2 separate regions of the Homo sapiens genome follow, and region 2 is linked to region 1. Evidence: promoter capture Hi-C in human tissues and cell types (Jung and others, 2019). All regions are on one chromosome and are shown on one strand. The core of a region is centred on a gene start or on the middle of the fragment in contact, and the rest is flanking DNA. Distances in the headings are between cores, read along the strand shown. Region 1 holds the start of NT5C2 (5'-nucleotidase, cytosolic II). Region 2 overlaps NOLC1 (nucleolar and coiled-body phosphoprotein 1).

What was found. The method cuts DNA at HindIII sites, captures the fragments that hold promoters and counts their contacts. A contact is called where the count stands out against the background at its distance.
Region 2: a fragment that was not itself captured here is called in contact with the fragment with the promoter of NT5C2 in region 1 in 1 of the 25 tissues and cell types used here (spleen).

The regions. Positions count from the first base shown.
Region 1 is chr10:103,191,528-103,195,272 of GRCh38, reverse strand. NT5C2 (5'-nucleotidase, cytosolic II) reads left to right here and starts at 2,001. Exons shown (of 19, transcript NM_001351169.2): 1 at 2,001-2,037. RefSeq lists a silencer at 1,907-2,186 and enhancers at 1,885-2,571, 2,572-3,260. The HindIII fragment of the contact is 10,406 bases long and covers 1-3,745 here.
Region 2 is chr10:102,159,999-102,163,743 of GRCh38, reverse strand. It overlaps NOLC1 (nucleolar and coiled-body phosphoprotein 1), which reads right to left. Exons shown (of 13, transcript NM_004741.5): 8 at 3,720-3,745; 9 at 3,401-3,511; 10 at 2,651-3,292; 11 at 2,082-2,188; 12 at 1,819-1,911; 13 at 1-1,633. The coding sequence ends at 1,475. Among named protein-coding and RNA genes, the nearest start is that of NOLC1, 9.5 kb to the right of the region's middle. The HindIII fragment of the contact is 5,920 bases long and covers 1-3,745 here.

The sequences.
Region 1 (3,745 bases), core at 752-3,251:
TTTTCCCCTTATTCTGTTATCTTTTAACTTTGTTTTCAGTTTTTTTCAAGTTATTCCATCTCTCTGATTTTTTAAATTCTTTTTTCTGATTTATTTTTTAAAACAAAGTTCTTGATTATAAAAGTAATACAAACACCGTAAGAAATTAATACAAAAGTACAAAGAAGAAACCACCCCATCTTATCACTGAGAGAAAACAACATAATCAATTACATATTTCCCTGTAGTCTTTTGCGTGTGCAGTTTTTTTTCACAGTTGTGATCACATTCATTTGTGTGTGTCTCTATATTTGTTTTTCTCTCAGTACCATAGTGTTTAGACACAAACCCTGGCCTTTTTTCGTTTCTTCTTTTTTTTTTTTTTTGGAGATGGAGTCTCCCTCTGTCGCCCAGGCTGGAGTTCAGTGGCGTGATCTTGGCTCACTGCAACCTCCGCCTTCCGGGTTCAAGCGATTCTCCTGCCTCAGCCTCCCGAGTAGCTGGGACTACAGGTGCGTGCCACCATGCCCAGCTAATTTTTGTATTTTTAGTAGAGATGGGGTTTCGCCATGTTGGTCAGGCTGGTCTTGAACTCCTGACCTCAAATGATCCACCTGCCTTGGCTTCCCAAAGTGATGGGATTACAGGTGTGAGCTACCACGCCCCGCCACCCTGGCCTTTTTTCAAATGCACTTGGTTTAAAGATTGTGTTATGCCAGCTTCCAACCCCTATTCCTCTTTTCCATATATCCTGAGAAATTTAGAAGGTGAGGGGCCCAAGGTCTATCCTTAGCTGACCTGAAGCGAAGTTGGCTGAGAAGCACAAGAAGGGGTAGAAGTGCTCTGGCGGAGCACTTATTAAAAAGACGCGGAGGTTTTGGTTGACTGCAAGCCCAATATGAGTCAACAGTATGGGTGCCAAGAACTTTATCGCAGGAGTGCAAAGCGATAGGTCCCAAAAGGAGGAAGCTATAGTCCTGCTTTGCTCTGATGATACCACAAACATTTGGTTCAGTCTTGGGTGATGTATTCTAAAGAAATCACAGTCAAATCTACCATTTGCGTGAGAGGGATAAAGACCCTCAAAACCAGGGCAGAGGAGGAACAATGGAAGGAACGGGAGACACTGATGTGGAATGAGAAGACCTTGGGCAGAGGTGATAGAAGTAAAGTATCTGAAAAGTCAAAGGTCCAGGAGAGATTAGACGTTTGTTCTCTGTGGCTCCAAGGCATCGAATTTCGGCCCTGAGAGTGGAAGTTTAGACACATTTTCTCACTGGTGAGAGCTGCTCGGACCAAGGAATTCAGTCCTCTGGAAATAGCTAGCTGCTTTTGCGGAGTCTTCCTGCTGAGTTGCTGGTGGTGGGGTGAACATTTATTGAGTGCTTACTGTGTGCCAGGATCCTGCTGAGGGCCTCACCTATATTGTGTGATTTCATCCCGTCAACACCCTTTGATGTGGGGACTGTTGTTCCCTATCCTGGTGCTACAAATGTGGGCACCAGGTATAGGAGGTCAGGTACCTCGCCCGAGGTTACAGTTTGTAAGTGGTGGTACTGGGACTGGAACTCGTTCTGACAAACTTCAAAGCTGGTGTTTTTAGCCATCAAGGGGATTCGAGGGTGCCATGGGGGTGTGGACGCATGAGGGGCCTTGAGGTCCATTAGACCAAAACATTCTGTGACTGGGAAAAAGGATGCCCTCTCCTCCCAAGGAAAAGCTTCTTCTGAATGAGACACAGTGGAGAGGTTAGCCCAGGGCCAGGCTGAGGGGCGCAGGCAGAATGCCAAGGGATGGAGACCCTCAGAAGGGCAAAGCCGGTGTTCCATCGTTTGAAGATCTCCAGACCCGCGGGACAGACAGACGCAGCGCGGTCAGGGAGCGTCGGCTTCGCCGAACTCTGCGGCGGAGCTGGGGGACGGAACAGCGCGCCGGTCCCTGGCCGGGCGCGAGCAGAGGGGCGGCGCGGGGCGGTGCCGGGCGGCGGGGGCGGGGAGGGCGCGCGTTGAGGCGGCTGCGGCAGTTGCGCGCTGGGATTGTTGCGGTGCGCTGGAGCCGGTGAGTGCGGCGGGCCCCGTGGGCGGGCGGGGAAGGAGCGGGCGAACGGGGAGCTAGGTGGGGAGGTGCGCGGCCGAACACGCGACCCCAGGGTAGCGGCCGCCGCCTGCCCCCGCCCCCGGCCCCCAGGGACCATGGCCCCAAGGCCCCTCTCCTTAGGCCGAGTCCCCGCCAGCGCGCTCGCGGACGCCGCACGCCTCCCAACTCCCTCGGTGCGGCCCCCGCCCCACGGCAGCCCCTTCCTCCGCGCCGCCGCGACGCCTCCGGCCCACGTCACGCTCGCGCCATTGTTTCCCAGCCGCCGGCTCGCTGGGACCCCGCCTCAGCCTCCCAGCGCGGCCGTTCGCCGCGTTCCGCCCTCTTCCCCCCTTTCCTCACGCTGGTGGTAGCCCTTTCCTCAGTCCTGCTGACGTCCTCCAGCTGATTCCAGGCTGTTCCCGGCCACCCCTGAGGCCGTCTTTTCGCTTCTTGTAAAAGCCTCCCCGCCCCCAGAGCTCCTCGGTCGCCTCCCGAGAAGCCAAGGGGCCTCTGGTGGAGCGCCAGGTTGACAGCGTTTTAGCAGGACCGCGAGAAACGGCCAGCTCGTTTGCCACACGCCCGTGTGCAACACTTCCTGGAAAGGTCACAGCGAATTGCAAGCCGCCACAAAAAACATCCGGACAGCTCCTGGTCAGGGGGCTGAGCCGTTCAGTGGCGGCCTATTCTTCTCCTTTTTTCGGGGCTCCTGAAATCGGAGAGGGCGAGATGCCGATCTGAGGCCTGAACCCTTAGTTTAAGAAAAACGTTTTGGGGGTTTGACTCCGGCAGGCCACAGCTTCTAAAAGCAGCAGGTAGAGGCTGCTGTCCGAATCGACGTTTTCCTGGGCTTTCACCTTTAGGGCCTTGATGTTTGAGGGGGGTCGTGCTCTGAAGTACAGCGCCCCGAAATGACTAGTCACCATTACAGGGGGGTGTGTGCGCGCCCGTCCAGGGGCCGATGAGTTCTTCAGGATTGAGCTGTACTTGGTTCCCAGTGTCTGTAGACTATTCATTTCGCCTCTTCAAGCAACGAATGCAAACTACTGACCATAATGTGAAAGGGAGAATATTGAAACTGTGTCATTTACCATGAAAACTTAGTGTTATTGCGTAGAGAAGGCTTTAGGTTTCAAAAATATTTACCACATGGCTTTTCAACAACGGTTAGAATTTATCCAGATGAAGACATCCAGGCCTGAAAGGGTGAAGTTCGAAAAGAGAAAAAAAATAGGTGTGAGCTGAGAGTGGAAAAAAAAAAAAGAACAAAAAAGGTTAAGTTCAAGAAAACATAGCTGGTTAGTAATTAAAATAAAAACTCCACATGCAGGGTTGATACTAGCATACACAGACTTATTTCTGAAGTGCATTTCCATTGCAGTGTAAACCACTACATTTCAACAGTATAGGTAGCTGCATTACTCTCATTGACCCAGAATTAAGGTTTTAGGATTTAGTAACCAACAAATCTGTAAAATAAGGTGGAGGGGCGCGGGGTGGAGTGGGGGGGGTTCTGAAGGAGATGTTATGCAAGATTCCTTTCAGTTCAAAGGTTTGATGCCATTGTATGAAAATTTACCATCAGCTACAAGTTTTCAGAAGTTTGTAATTGTAAGAAGATTTATATAGATAGTATTCCCTTATAGTACCTGCCACCCTTAACCAGAAGACATCACATCTTCCTAAAGAAAGC
Region 2 (3,745 bases), core at 620-3,119, 1.0 Mb after region 1:
TTATTATCAGGTTATTTAGCAAGTATGGAATCCAAACAAGAGGAGACTAATCTTAAGACCTATAACTCGTCCATGAAGGCTTGGGGCACACTTTTCTACCACCAGAATGCCTTAGCTTCCAGAAAGCTGTGGACTCTTCCCTCTCCGTCTTGGTCTGGCTGAGTACCGCTACTGCTCAGTCACTTCCTGCAGCCATACCGTCAGGCCAGCTTGGCCTAAAAGCTGTTATCTCTGGTCACTGGTTTGTGTTGTTACAGCCACTGCTACTAACAGTTAAGGTTCTGAAGGGGGCATGTCAATTGCTCCCAGGTACCAACTAGGAGACACAATAATCCTATTAGTTTGTTCTCCCAAACCCACTCCAGTTTATCAGGTAATATGCTCTGTAAGGTTCTTTCCAACCCCATTAGCACATACATAGATTACCTATAATTTCACCTAATGTAATCTACCTTCCTACTGAGGATTGAGGTTTTAACGTTTGTTTTTTTTCCCCCCACTTTCTTGATCAGTGATTCTCAACCATGTAGGAATTAATGAAACCAATTCTGTATCACCACTGCAACCAAGACAGCAATACCAAGTGATATGTATTTTTCAAACTCATGTCATTTTGTTCTCTATACTGTAAAAAACGAGAAGATGCAGTCCTCAACTTAGAACTCAATACTAGGAAGGGTCAAGTTGTCAAAAAATGTCTTTCAACAGTAGAAAAGTTTGCTTTCAAATTAAAAAACAAAGCACGTATTGCAAACATCGTGTAATGATAAAATTACAGAAAAAAATATATTCAGAATGACCCATGGCATTCACGCCATACCAGAATTTTGCCTGTAACAAAACAGAGAATTTTATCCCAAAAAGTAGGTTAGGTCCATGCTGGCTAAAAACTTCAGTCCCAGACCCAATAAATGAGGATGAAATACATAGTGCATGCTTAACAGACATTGCATATACATCAACAATTCTTTAATGCCCCTCTCTAGGGTTTTGAGGGAAGGAGGGATGAAATGTGGACATGTGCACTCACAAAGGCAGAATTTTCTTCCTATTATAAAAAGTCACACGTGACCCTTTACTATGTTTTGGGCAATAGCCAAGATTTTATCTGTGGGAATCCACCTTTGAAAATCACAACAAAAATCAATAGTAAGTGATTTAATATAAAATATACAAATTTCTCAGTATGAGGACTTTCACAGAAAAGGAAGGAGACAACAATGAAAATGAATTTTCTTAAAAAATAACATTCCCTTATTTTGTCCCTGCTACTCAACACTCAAAAACAAGTCTGTACAAAACTAGGAACACAGAAAAGGACCAGAGAGGATGTTACACTGTAAAGTCTTAGGACCTACTCTAAACTTCTGTCCTCATCAAGACCCTCACCTAGAGACCTGAGGGTTCCCAGGTCCACTGGAGAAAGTAAGTAGTCTCCGATCATCACCCTTGCTTCACCGAAGATGGCCTCAGGTCACTCGCTGTCAAACTTAATAGAATTGACCTGGACAGAGATTGAGCCTCCCCGGTAGCTGCCCCGCTTCTTCTTGGTTTTCTCATGCCGAAAGGACTTGCCTTTGGTGAACTTCAAAACCTGATTGGCTCGCTCTCCCCAGTCTCCGGCTGCACCTCGCTGGTAAGTAGAGAGGGAGATTAACACAGAGGAGGACCATGCTGGAGCCCTGTCACTTTATTCTTTCTACTCCCTGCTCAAGGAAACCTGAACCCAGAGAAGATTCCCACCAACCTGAACCAAGAATTGTCCTCTCTGACACTACCCATCCTCCCTCCCAAGAATGGCACAGATCTCTCTCTCACCTTGGCATCAAAGGAGTTGTCCGCAACTCGTGAATCCACCTCAATTTCCTCCTCCCTGACCCTTCGGAATGGGGATGATGCCCTTTTTTCTCCCTACAGAAGAATGAAGTAGGAAATTAAAGACAGAGTGGTCATGTAACAGTTCTCCTGAGTGATACACATGGGCACATGTACCAGGTCACGCCAGGCAGAGCTGTCAAGATGATCCTAGATTTTTCTACTTTTAAAGAGCTGGCTCCTGAGAAGAAAGTGAGACAACTTACTTTCTTCCTTTTTGGAAATGTGTTAGGGGTCTGAAGCTTTATCTTCTTGGCCTGAGGAGTCTCTGCCTCCTTGGCAGCCTCATTCTGCTTCCGCTTCTTTAATGAACCTACAAAACAAAAAGCCAGACTCAGGCCGAGTACAGTGGCTCACAACTGTAACCCCAGCATTTTGGGAGTCCAAGGTAGGAGGATCGCTTGAGCCCAGGAAATTCAGATCAGCCTGGGCAATATAGTGAGATTCTGTCTCTATAAAAAGTTAAAAAAATGAGCCAGACATGGTGGTGCATGCTTGTAGTCCCGGCTACTCAGGAGGCTGGGGTGGAAAGATCACCTGAGTCCATGAGGTTAAGGCTGCACAAGCCGTGATCATGCCATTGCACCCTGGTCTGGGTGACACAGTGAGACTCTAATAAAAAAAAAAAAAGGTAACCAGTTTCCTGTTCTTCCTCCCAGTTTCCACAACTGGAAGCCCAGTGGTGGGCCTCCTCTCACTACCCTACTCTCAAAGAGTATATCCCATCCTGATTTGGGGGGACAAAACCCAGAGGGCATGTTCATTGGGTACAGACCTGATTTGGAAACTACCACTGCCGCCTTTTTCTTTTCTTCTTCCTCCTCCTCACTGTTCTTAGCTGCTTTTCCATTCTGGGCAGTCAGTGCAGAGGTGCCATTGGCCTTGGGGGCTTGTGGTCTTGGAGAGCCCTTGCCCTTGAGCTTCTCTTCCTCTTCCTCACTGGAGTCATCAGAAGAAGAACTGTTGCTGCTCTCAGCCTTTCCTTTCTTTGCAGAGGCTGGCTTGGAAGGGGCTGCACCTCCTGCTACCTTCTGTGGCTTCTTCTTAACTGCAGACTTAGATGTCTTCTCTTCCTCCTCCTCACTGCTGGAGCTGTCTGAATCAGAGCTGCTGTCCCTACTACCCTGAGGAGCCTGCTTGGCAGGCAGAGATAGAGCTGCTTTGGCAGTCGCCTTGGGCTTAGTGGTGGCCACCATCTTCTTTGTCTTCTCCTCCTCACTGGAGCTGCTCTCTTCCTCACTGGAGCTGCTGTCAGCCTTTCTCGTCAGAAGCTTCTGGCCACCGCCCACAGGTTGCTTGGGGGCTGCAGCTGGCTTCACTGCAGGTGACTTGGTGGTGACAGCTGGCTTATTTGAAGAATTCTTGGTGGTACCAGCTGGCTTAGAAGGAGCTTCATCATCCTCAGAGCTGTCAGAGTCTAGACACAGAAGGGATGGAATCAACAGCTCCCCAAATTGGATTCAGGGGAGCCCTTAGCAGCTGCCTGAGAGCATCTCACTGAACTGAGGGCCTCCATATGCCTTACCTGAGCTGTCTGAAGAGCTCTCTGCTGCTTTCTTTGCTGGAGGTGGTTTAGTGGTTGCTTTAGAGACTACTGCCTTAGTTGGGGGTTTCTTCTCTTCTTCAGAACTTGAATCTGAGGAGAACCTGTAGCATTATGCTGGGTCCAGAGTCCCAACCCAACCAGGACAGCAATAAAAAGAATGCAAAGACACGCACAGAGCCTTAGCTCTGTCTTGCTTTAAGCAAAAAGCAACCGAAGGATGGAAGGCTTTCTCTCTCCCTTATTCCTCATCCCCTCCTCCAGACCCACGCTGAGGGGAGGCTGCATCCCTCTGACTCACCAGACTCATCACTGCTGTCTTCACTG